Linked DNA regions of Homo sapiens: regions 2 and 3 are each linked to region 1. The links are contacts of gene promoters, found by promoter capture Hi-C in blood cells and fetal thymus (Javierre and others, 2016). All regions are on one chromosome and are shown on one strand. Each heading gives the region's core, a stretch centred on a gene start or on the middle of the fragment in contact. The rest is flanking DNA. Distances are from core to core; before and after follow the strand shown. Region 1 holds the start of RPUSD3 (RNA pseudouridine synthase D3). Region 2 holds the start of IRAK2 (interleukin 1 receptor associated kinase 2). Region 3 overlaps VHL (von Hippel-Lindau tumor suppressor).

The links. Contacts are between HindIII fragments. The CHiCAGO score rates a contact against its expected background, and 5 or more counts as called.
Region 2: the fragment with the promoter of IRAK2 here is called in contact with the fragment with the promoter of RPUSD3 in region 1 in 1 of 17 cell types (activated CD4 T cells); the score reaches 5.3 in activated CD4 T cells.
Region 3: a contact is called between a fragment that was not itself captured here and the fragment with the promoter of RPUSD3 in region 1, in 1 of 17 cell types (total CD8 T cells). The highest score is 6.3, in total CD8 T cells.

Annotation. Positions count from the first base shown.
Region 1 is chr3:9,842,476-9,845,801 of GRCh38, forward strand. RPUSD3 (RNA pseudouridine synthase D3) reads right to left here and starts at 1,533. Exons shown (of 9, transcript NM_173659.5): 1 at 1,415-1,533; 2 at 990-1,126. The coding sequence starts at 1,515. RefSeq lists an enhancer at 1,396-1,475. The HindIII fragment of the contact is 7,859 bases long and covers 1-3,326 here.
Region 2 is chr3:10,163,352-10,166,677 of GRCh38, forward strand. IRAK2 (interleukin 1 receptor associated kinase 2) reads left to right here and starts at 1,568. Exons shown (of 13, transcript NM_001570.4): 1 at 1,568-1,697. The coding sequence starts at 1,604. RefSeq lists silencers at 1,403-1,532, 1,733-1,882. The HindIII fragment of the contact is 5,632 bases long and covers 1-3,326 here.
Region 3 is chr3:10,146,847-10,150,132 of GRCh38, forward strand. VHL (von Hippel-Lindau tumor suppressor) reads left to right here. Exons shown (of 3, transcript NM_000551.4): 3 at 2,941-3,286. The coding sequence ends at 3,119. Among named protein-coding and RNA genes, the nearest start is that of VHL, 6.7 kb to the left of the region's middle. The HindIII fragment of the contact is 5,547 bases long and covers 1-3,286 here.

The DNA.
Region 1 (3,326 bases), core at 283-2,782:
TCTTGGCTCAAATGTCACATCACGGAGAGGTCTGAATCTCCAATCTAATGTCTGCCTTCCTCCTGCAGTTCCTCACCATCATAACACCCTGTTTTAGTTTATGCATAGCACTTACCACTAGTAACTTGTTCATTTATTTTCTGACATCCATTTCTCCCGTTAGAGAGAAATCCATTTCTCCCCTGAGAGCAGAAACCATATCTATCTTTTTCAGCACTGTATAGCCTGCCTAGAACAGTGCCTGGAACATAGCATATGTTCAAGAAATAGTTGAGAAAAGGAATAAATCACTGAATAGAGAGTGGGGTTCAGAGAAATTCAGTTATTTTCCTAAAGCCGCACAGCAAGCTGATCACAGAGCCTAGGTATGTCTGACTCCAAAGCCTGTGTTTTGTCCGTCGATAAATAATCATTATTTATTTATTTATTTATTTAGACTGAGTCTTGCTCTGTCATCCCAGGCTGGAGCGCAGTAGCACGATGTCGGCTCACTGCAACCTCTGCTATCCGGGTTCAAGTGACTCTCCTGCCTCAGCCTCCCGAGTAGCTGGGATTACAGGCGGACGCCGCCACACCTGGCTAATTTTTGTGTTTTTAGTAGAGACGGGGTTTCACCATGTTGGCCAGGCTAGTCTCGAACTCCTGACCTCAGGTGATCCGCCCGCGTCAGCACCCTAAAGTGCCGGGATTACAGGCGTGAGCCACCGCGGCCAATAAACAATAATCTAGTATAGCAACTCCCGTAACTGAGCGCCGGCTATGTGCAAGGCTCGGTAGTTATTTGCATCTTCTCCCCACTCTTAACCCTACTGCATCATGGCAGTAGGGTTAAAAGCGGGGAGAGGGTGCAAATTAGGTGGCTTGTCCCAGCTCATGCTGCTAGTGGGAGGCAGAAGCAGGGCTGATCCCGTGGCTTCAATGGAGAGCCCAACTGCACGCCGAGGCAGTCCCCTCCCGGTCCTTGTGCGGCCGTGCCTCTCACCCCTCACCTTTCCGGTCCACCACGGCTGCCCGCAGCGCATCAACCAGCTCCTCCCGACTGAGGTTTTTTGGCAGCAGCCCCGCGAAGGGCTGGTCCCCGAGGGGCCCCGACCGTTGGCAGGAGCCGCGGGGTTGCCTCTGATGCCTGGACAAGGAGGGAGAAGCAATGGGAGTCATTCCATCCCGAGGTGCCACCCATTCCTATCTCCGGACGCCTCTTCCCAAATCCTGCGGCCTCTGACAAATGCCTCACAATGTCTGGGCTGACCTCGAAAATTCAGGTACGACCGGTCCCATTCTACAGCGGAGGGCACCGAGGCTCAGAGAGGCCAACGGGGCTGTTTTCGGGTAACATCTACCTGATCCAGATCCCGCACGTGCCTTCCCCCTGCCCTAGCCTCCGTCCCGCATGAGAGAGGGGGTACTTAATCACCGGGCTTCGGTGCCAAAGCCTGCGTCCTCGGGCACTGGGCGGACACCCAGGCCCCGCCGCCAGCCACTCCAGAACCGGCCCAAAACACGGCGGCCGTCCATCTCCCGAGCCAGGACAGCGCGCATGTGCGTCCAGAGGGGCAGACCCGCGCTCCAGCCAGCGCGCTGATTGGTCAGCTGGAGTGTCAATCGGAATGGTGACCGGGCGGGACTCAGAGCCTGAGGAGGCGGGGCTTTTCCTCCGCCCAGGAAGGAAATGCAGAAATGCCTTCCTATGCTTTTAGGGAGAGCGCTGTAGCAGAAGAATTTGATCTGATCAAAAAACCTGTCTTAGCAAAAAACCTGAAGCCGCCTTTGCAAAAATTATATTACAAAATTATGACAGCGAAAGAGATCTGATCTAACCAACCCGCAGCTTGCCTTTAACCTCTAAACGGTCCTTGGTCATTCCTGGGCTTGGGCCAAGCTAACTTTGGGAGAAATTAGTTCGTAGTCTAAATGATAATTGCCCTTCCCCCGAACTAAACTGGCTTCATAGAGTTAATGAAAGGCCACCAGGTTAGGAGTAGTAGAGGGACCTGAATTCTGCTAAGGGTTAGAGGTAACTGATTACCAGCGGTTATTCCGGAGGTCACAGTGTTTGCAGCTTCCCCAGCTCACGATTGTCCAACCTGAGATTGGCCTTTGGAGATGTCTTTCCAGGCTTTTGCATTTCTGACGGCCGGATCACCCCACCCGGACCCTCAACTCTTGGCTCTACTAGTCCTGTGGCCCCTCGAAGTCAGGAGATCGAGACCATCCTGGCTAACACGGTGAAACCACGTCTCCACCAAAAATACAAAAAAATTAGCCGGGCGTGGTGGCGGGCGCCTGTAGTCCCAGCTACTCGGGAGGCTGAGGCAGGAGAATGGCGTGAACCCGGGAGGCGGAGTTTGCAGTGAGCCGAGATCGTGCCACTGCACTCCAGCCTGGGCGACGAGCGAGACTCCGTCTCAAAAAAAAAAAAAAAAGAAAAAAGAAAAAGAAAGTAGAAGAACACAGAAAAAAAAGAATAATATAATGACTGCCCACATTCCTACCATCAGAATTAGTCATTGTGAAACAATATATATATGTATAGGTTTCCTGTTTTTCTTGTTTAAGAAATGAAAGGGATAAAAGTAAATTCCCCTTTACTGCGTGCTTCCAGTTTTCACTCCCTCCCCAGTCTCCACTTTGAGTTTGGTGTGAACATTTTCCTAATGTGTTTTGGTTTTTGTTTTTTGGAGACAGAGTCTCGCTCTGTCACCCAGGCTAGAGTGCAGTGGCCCGATCTCGACTCACTGCAACTTCCACCTCCCGGGTTCAAGCGATTCCCCTGCCTTTGCCTCCTGAGTAGCTGGAATTACAGGTGCGGTGCCCGCCACCACACCCGGCTAATTTTTTGTATTTTAGTGACGGGGTTTCACCATGTCGCCCAGGCTGGTCTCGAACTCCTGAGCTCAGGCAATCCGCCCGCCTTGGCCTCCCAAAGTGCTAGGATTACAGACGTGAGCCACTGTGCCCGGCCACTAATGTGTTTTTTTGCTTGCTCTGTCATCCAGGCTGGAGTGCAGTGGCACAATCACAGCTCACTGCAGCCTCAACCTCCCAGGCTCAAACGATCCTCCCACTTCAGTCTCCTGAATAGCTGGGACTACAGGTGTGCACCACCATACCTAGCTTTTTTTTTTTTTTTTTTTTTTTTTAAAGATATGGGGTCTCACGATGTTGCCCAGGCTGGTCTCAAACTCCTGGGCTCAAGATAAGAAAATAAAAATAACAAAATAATTTTTAAAAAATCAAACTCCTGGGTTTAAGGGATTCACCCACCTACTTCGGCCTCCCAGAGTGCTGGGATTAAAGGCCGCACGGGGCCTTTGACAGACACTTCT
Region 2 (3,326 bases), core at 318-2,817, 320 kb after region 1:
CTCTACTTTTATTCTTTCTTTTCTTTCTTTTTTTTTTTTTTTTTTTCAGAGACAGGGTCTCATTCTGTCACTCAGGCTGCAGTGCAGTCATAGCTCACTGCAGCCTCAAACTCCTGGGTTCAAGAGATCCTACCACCTTAGCCTCCTGAGTAGCTGGGACTATAGGTGTACACTACCATGCTTGGCTCATTTTAAAATTTTTTGTAGAGGCCAGGCGTGGTGGCTCATGCCTGTAATCCTAGCACTTTGGGAGGCCGAGGCAGGCGGATCACGAGGTCAGGAGTTCAAGACCATCCTGGCCAACACAGTGAAACCCTGTCTCTACTAAAAATACAAAAATTAGCTGGGCGTGGTGGCGCGTGCCTGTAATCCCAGCTACTCGGGAGACTGAGGCAGGAGAATTGCTTGAACCGGGACCTGGGAGGCAGAGGCTGCAGTGAGCCAAGATTGCGCCACTGCACTCCAGCCTGGGCTACAGAGCAAGACTCCGTCTCAAAAAAAAAAAGTTTTTTGTAGAGATAAGATCTTCCTATGTTGCCCAGGCTTCTACTTTCATTCTCCAACATAGCTTATCTGCCTATTTTTATTGCTTGTTGTCTGTCTCCCTCCAGGACAAGGATTTTGTCCTTCTCTTCAGAGGTATTCCCAGCACCTACAACAGTGCCTGGCACATAGTAGCTGCACGATACATATTAGCTACTATAGTAAAGTCTACCTGACTACCCTATTTAATAGAATATTCCCCATGCTCAATCTGAATTCCTGATTCCCTTTAACCAACTTTTTTTCCTTTTTTTTTTTTTTTGCAATAGTGCTTATTACCTTTAAGACACTCTGTAACATACTATATTTATTATTTATTGTTAGTCTTTCTCTCCACACCTAGATTGTAAGTCTTATGAAAGCAAGGGCTTTTGTAGGCTTTTTTTTTTTTTTTTTTTTTTTTTTGAGACAGAGCCTCACTCTTCACCCAGGCTGGAGTACAAGGGCACAATCTGGGCTTACTGCAACCTCCGCCTCCAGGGTTCAAGCGATTCTTCTGCCTCAGCCTCCCAGGTAGCTGGGACTACAGGCGTGCGCCACCGTGCCCGGCTAATTTTTGTATTTTTAGTAGTGACGGGGTTTCACCATATTGGCCAGGCTAGTCTCGAACTCCTGACCTCGTGATCCGTCCGCCTCGGCCTCCCAAAGTACTGGGATTACAGGAGTGATCCACCGCGCCCGGCTGTAGGGTTTCTTATTCAGGTATTACCAACACCTAGGGAGTTGCCTGGCATACAGTAGGTAATTAATGGAGTATTTGATGAGCGCATGATGCATGGTGTAGTGCCGATGGAAGTGGGGTCAGAAGGCCTCCTGCCGCTGCGGCAGAATTCCCGTGTGGCCTTCTCCCACCAGGGCCTCAGTTTCCCCTCGCAGTTCCGATTCTCTGGCCGGCGCTGGGGTGGAGCCGGCGGGGCCGTCGTGCCGCCCGTGGCCGCTGGGGACGCTGGTGCCCTCCCGCCCCGCCCACTTCCCCGCCGGTCCGCCCCTGGCTAGAGAAGCCGCAGCCCGCAGTGTCCGACCCAGTCGTCCCGCGCCGGAGCCGGCCCCGTAGCGTGCCATGGCCTGCTACATCTACCAGCTGCCCTCCTGGGTGCTGGACGACCTGTGCCGCAACATGGACGCGCTCAGCGAGTGGGACTGGATGGAGTTCGGTGAGTGCGGCCCGGGGAGGGGAGGGGACCAGGGCGACCGGAGCCCCCAGCGATCCCGCCTGGAGCGGCCGCCAAGCTCCCTCGGGCACCCGGGTTCAGCGGGTCCCGATCCGAGGGCGTGCGAGCTGAGCCTCCTGGACCGGGTCCGCCGCGGACCTCGGCCTGTCACCTGAAGGTGCCGCGTGGTCTCTGAGGACGTCTGTCGACGAGCAGGGGCCGCCGCCACTGCGCTCTGAGTCCAGAGAACGGTGGGTACGGGGGCCCTCCTGTCAGCGCTGCTGGCTCGGTGACGTCCCCAGGTGGCCTCTCATCCAGCCCACAACAGCCTGCAAAGTGCGAGCCTCGACCCTGTAGGGACCCACGGTGCTGTCACTTCTTGGGGGGGTGTGTGTGTGTGTGTGTGTGGTGTGTTTAGTTTTAGTGTATATTAGAAGGATCTATGATTTAACATATATATATATATTGAAACGGAGTTTCGCTGTTGTTGCCCAGGCTGGAGTGCAATGGCACGGTCTCGGCTCACTGCAACCTCCACCTCTGGGATTCAAGCGATTTTCCTGCCTCGGCCTCCCGAGTAGCTGGGATTACAGGCGCCCGCTACCACCCTGGCTAATTTTTTGTATTTTCAGTAGAGACCGGGTTTCACCATGTTGGCCAGACTGGTCTTGAACTATTTTTTTTTTTTTTTTTTTTTTTTTTTAAGACGGAGTCTCACTCTGTCGCCCAGGCTGGAGTGCAGTGGCGCGATCTAGGCTCGTTGCAAGCTCCGCCTCCCGGGTTCACGCCATTCTCCTGCCTCAGCCTTCTGAGTAGCTGGGACTACAGGCGCCCGCCACCACGCCCGGCTAACTTTGTATTCTTAGTAGAGACGGGGTTTCACCGTGTTAGCCAGGATGGTCTGGATCTCCTGACCTTGTGATCCGCCCACCCTGGGCCTCCCAAAGTGCTGGGATTACAGGCATGAGCCACCGCGCCCGGCCTCCGGAACTCTTGATCTCAGGCGATCCACCTGCTTCGGCCTCCCAAAGTGCTGGGATTACAGGCGTGAGCCACTGTGCCCAGCCTATTTATCATATTTGTGATTAAATGTACTTTACCATTATAGTTTTAAAATCAGATATTTACTTTTAGTGTACATTGTTTTGATCACAGTATTTATGACTATCAACCTGTTTTGAGATCAGATGTGTCCTAATAGATTCAGTGTGTATAATGGGGCCTAAGCACAAGCACTTACTTTCACTCTATTGCAAGGTGCACAGTTCTAGATAATTCCGTGGGAAGGCACTCAGACAGCCTCCATATGTTTTGTTTGTTGGTGCCTGACGGATGACTGGCGGAGAGGGCCATGGACTCTGCGGGGAGGCCGCTTGCCTGTTGTCTCTGCTTTCCAGGTGGAGATCTGCATTCCAGGCTCTTGCTGTATGACTTTGGGCCAGTTTGTTAACCTCTCTGAGCCTCAGCTTCTGAATCTGTATGTAAACTGGAGATGATAATTATAGCTTCTTCATAAAGTTGTGAGGAATGAAAATACTGTATAAAAGCACTGACACCTAAGTGTTAAATATTCTTATAAGTCATAAGTTGTAATATTCTCTTTTCATTTTTATTTTTTTGAGACAGTCTCAT
Region 3 (3,286 bases), core at 787-3,286, 300 kb after region 1:
GGCTCTTAAGAGACAAGCGAAATTAAAGTATCATATCATAGGTTAGTTTTGTAGAATTGTAGAATTACGAATGCCTTTTGTTTCCCTGGCCAAATTGTGCCCTGGAGTTCCAGGAGAACAATGTGTAGAGCATGAGATATTTTGGCTTATTTGTTGCTGACTTCTAATTTTTTTTATTTTTTTGAGACAGAATCTCGCTGTGTTAGCTAGGCTGGAGTGCAGTGGCGCAATCTCGGCTCACTGCAACCTCCGCCTACTGGGTTCCAGTGATTCTCTTGTCTCAGCCTCCCGAGTAGCTGGGACTACAGGCGTGTGCCACCCACTCTGATAATTTTTTGTATTTTTAGTAGAGACGGGGTTTCACCGTGTTAGCCAGGATGGTCTCCATCTCCTGACCTCATGATCTGCCCGCCTACGCCTCCCAAAGTGCTGGGATTACAGGCATCAGCCACAGCACCTGGCCTATGTATTTTCAATTTAACACAATCAAGCTCACAGTGCCAATCAGAGGTGTTTTTTTTTTTTTTATTTTTATTTTTAGAGAGTCTCACAGTGTCATCCAGGCTGGAGTGCAGTGGTGCGATTTCAGCTCACTGCAACCTCTGCATCCTGGGTTCAAGTGATTCTCCTGCCTCAGCCTCCTGGGTAGCTGGGGTTATAGGTGCCTGTCACCACACCTGGCTAATTTTTGTATTTTTAGTAGAGATGAGGTTTCACCATGTTGGCCAGGCTGATCTTGAACTCCTGACCTCAGGTGATCTGCCCACCTCAGCCTCCCAAAGTGCTGGGATTACAGGCGTGAGCCACTGCGTCCAGCCTGTTTTTTTTTTTTTTTAAATCATTGAAGATTGGTATAATACTTCACTATTTGTTTGAAGCTCAAATGATTTTATCAGGGTAAACCCTAATAAACTGATGTTCCTGTGGGTAAAAAAAACCTCACTAAAGACCAGCAGTGTGTGGTGGCTCCTGCCTGTAATCATGCCTGTAATTCCAGCACTTAGGGAGGCTATGGCGGGAGGGTCGCTTGAGACCAGGAGTTCTTGACCAGCCTGGACAACAAAGTGAGACCCCAGCTCCACAAAAAAATTTTTTTTTAATTACCTGGGCATCTTAGCATATGCCTGTGGTCACAGCTATTTGGGAGGCTTAGGTGGGAGGATCCCTTGAGCCCAGGAGTTTGAGGCTGCAGTGAGCCATGATCATACCACTGCACTCCAGCCCAGGTGACAGAGTGAGATCCTGTCTCAAAAAAAGAAAAAAAAAACTCAAAAACCCCCCAAATACATGGGTTTCATAGGATTCAAACTACTATGTGTGTATAGATCCTGTTTTAAGGAAGTAGATATATAAAAATGAGCATTGCTAAGTTAAATTTGGTAAATTTGCCTTATAGAATACCCTCGAGTACGTTTCCAGTGAGTGTAAAATAGGAATTGGGATACCCAATTCAGTTGTACTAGATTTTCTTTTTTTTTTTTTTTTTGAGACGGAGTCTCGCTCTGTCGCCCAGGCTGGAGTGCAGTGGCGGGATCTCGGCTCACTGCAAGCTCCGCCTCCCGGGTTCACGCCATTCTCCTGCCTCAGCCTCCCAAGTAGCTGGGACTACAGGCGCCCGCCACTACGCCCGGCTAATTTTTTGTATTTTTAGTAGAGACGGGGTTTCACCGTTTTAGCCGGGATGGTCTCGATCTCCTGACCTCGTGATCCGCCCGCCTCGGCCTCCCAAAGTGCTGGGATTACAGGCGTGAGCCACCGCGCCCGGCCTAGATTTTCTAAGTACACATTGTTTTGGTTATGTGTTTTGTGACTACCACCCCAAAACTAATAACCACCTTTTTTTTTTTTTTGAGACAGAGTCTCACTGTGTCACCCAGGCTGGAGTGCAGTGGCGTGTGATCTTGGCTCACTGCAACCTCTGCCTCTCGGGTTCAAGCGATTCTCCTGCTTCAGCAGCTGGGACTACAGGTGTGCACCACCAAGCCTGGCTAATTTTTTGCATTTTAGTGGAGACGGGGGTTTCACCATGTTGACCAGGCTGATCTTGAACTCTTGAGCTCAGGCAGTCTGCCTGCCTCAGCCTCCTAAAGTGCTAGGATTACAGGCGTGAGCCACTGCGCCCAGCCCACCATTTTATTTGTTCATAATTCTGTAGTCCAGGCTGGGCTCAGCTAGGCAGTTACTCTGCTGGTGGTAGTCGTTGGTGTGGCTGCCTTTTGCTGGCAGCTGGGGGCTGGGCCTGTCCCTCTTTTTTTTTTTTCTCTTTTCTTTTTTCTTTTTTTTCAAGATAGGGTCTCACTCTGTCACCCAGGTTGGAGTGCAGTGGCATGATCTTAGCTCACTGCAACCTCTGCCTCCAGGGCTCAAGTGATCCTCCCACCTCAGCCTCCCCAGTCGCTGGGACCACAGGCATGTGCCACCATGCCTGGCTAATTTTTTGTGTATTTTGTAGAGACGGGGTTTCGCCATGTTGCCAGGCTGGTCTCGAACTCCTGAGCTCAGGCGATCTACTGACGTTGGCCTCCCAAAGTGTTGGGATCACAGGCATGAACCACCATGCCTGGCCAGGGCCTGTTCCTCTTTATGTGGTCTCTCTAGCAGGGTAGCTCAGGGCTTTCAAAAGTATAAAAGCAGAAGTCAGCAGGCCTTTTTAAGGCTTCGGCCTAGAATTGCCAGTGTCGCTTCATCCACATTCAGTTAGTTAAAGCAATCACAAGCCCAGCCCATTTCAAGGTGAAATTACTACAGAGGCATGAACACCATGAGGTGTCCATAGGGGGCCATCAGCATAACACACTGCCACATACATGCACTCACTTTTTTTCTTTAACCTAAAGTGAGATCCATCAGTAGTACAGGTAGTTGTTGGCAAAGCCTCTTGTTCGTTCCTTGTACTGAGACCCTAGTCTGCCACTGAGGATTTGGTTTTTGCCCTTCCAGTGTATACTCTGAAAGAGCGATGCCTCCAGGTTGTCCGGAGCCTAGTCAAGCCTGAGAATTACAGGAGACTGGACATCGTCAGGTCGCTCTACGAAGATCTGGAAGACCACCCAAATGTGCAGAAAGACCTGGAGCGGCTGACACAGGAGCGCATTGCACATCAACGGATGGGAGATTGAAGATTTCTGTTGAAACTTACACTGTTTCATCTCAGCTTTTGATGGTACTGATGAGTCTTGATCTAGATACAGGACTGGTTCCTTCCTTAGTTTCAAAGTGTCTCATTCTCAGAGTAAAATAGGCACCATTGCTTAAAAGAAAGTTAACTGACTTCACTAGGCATTGT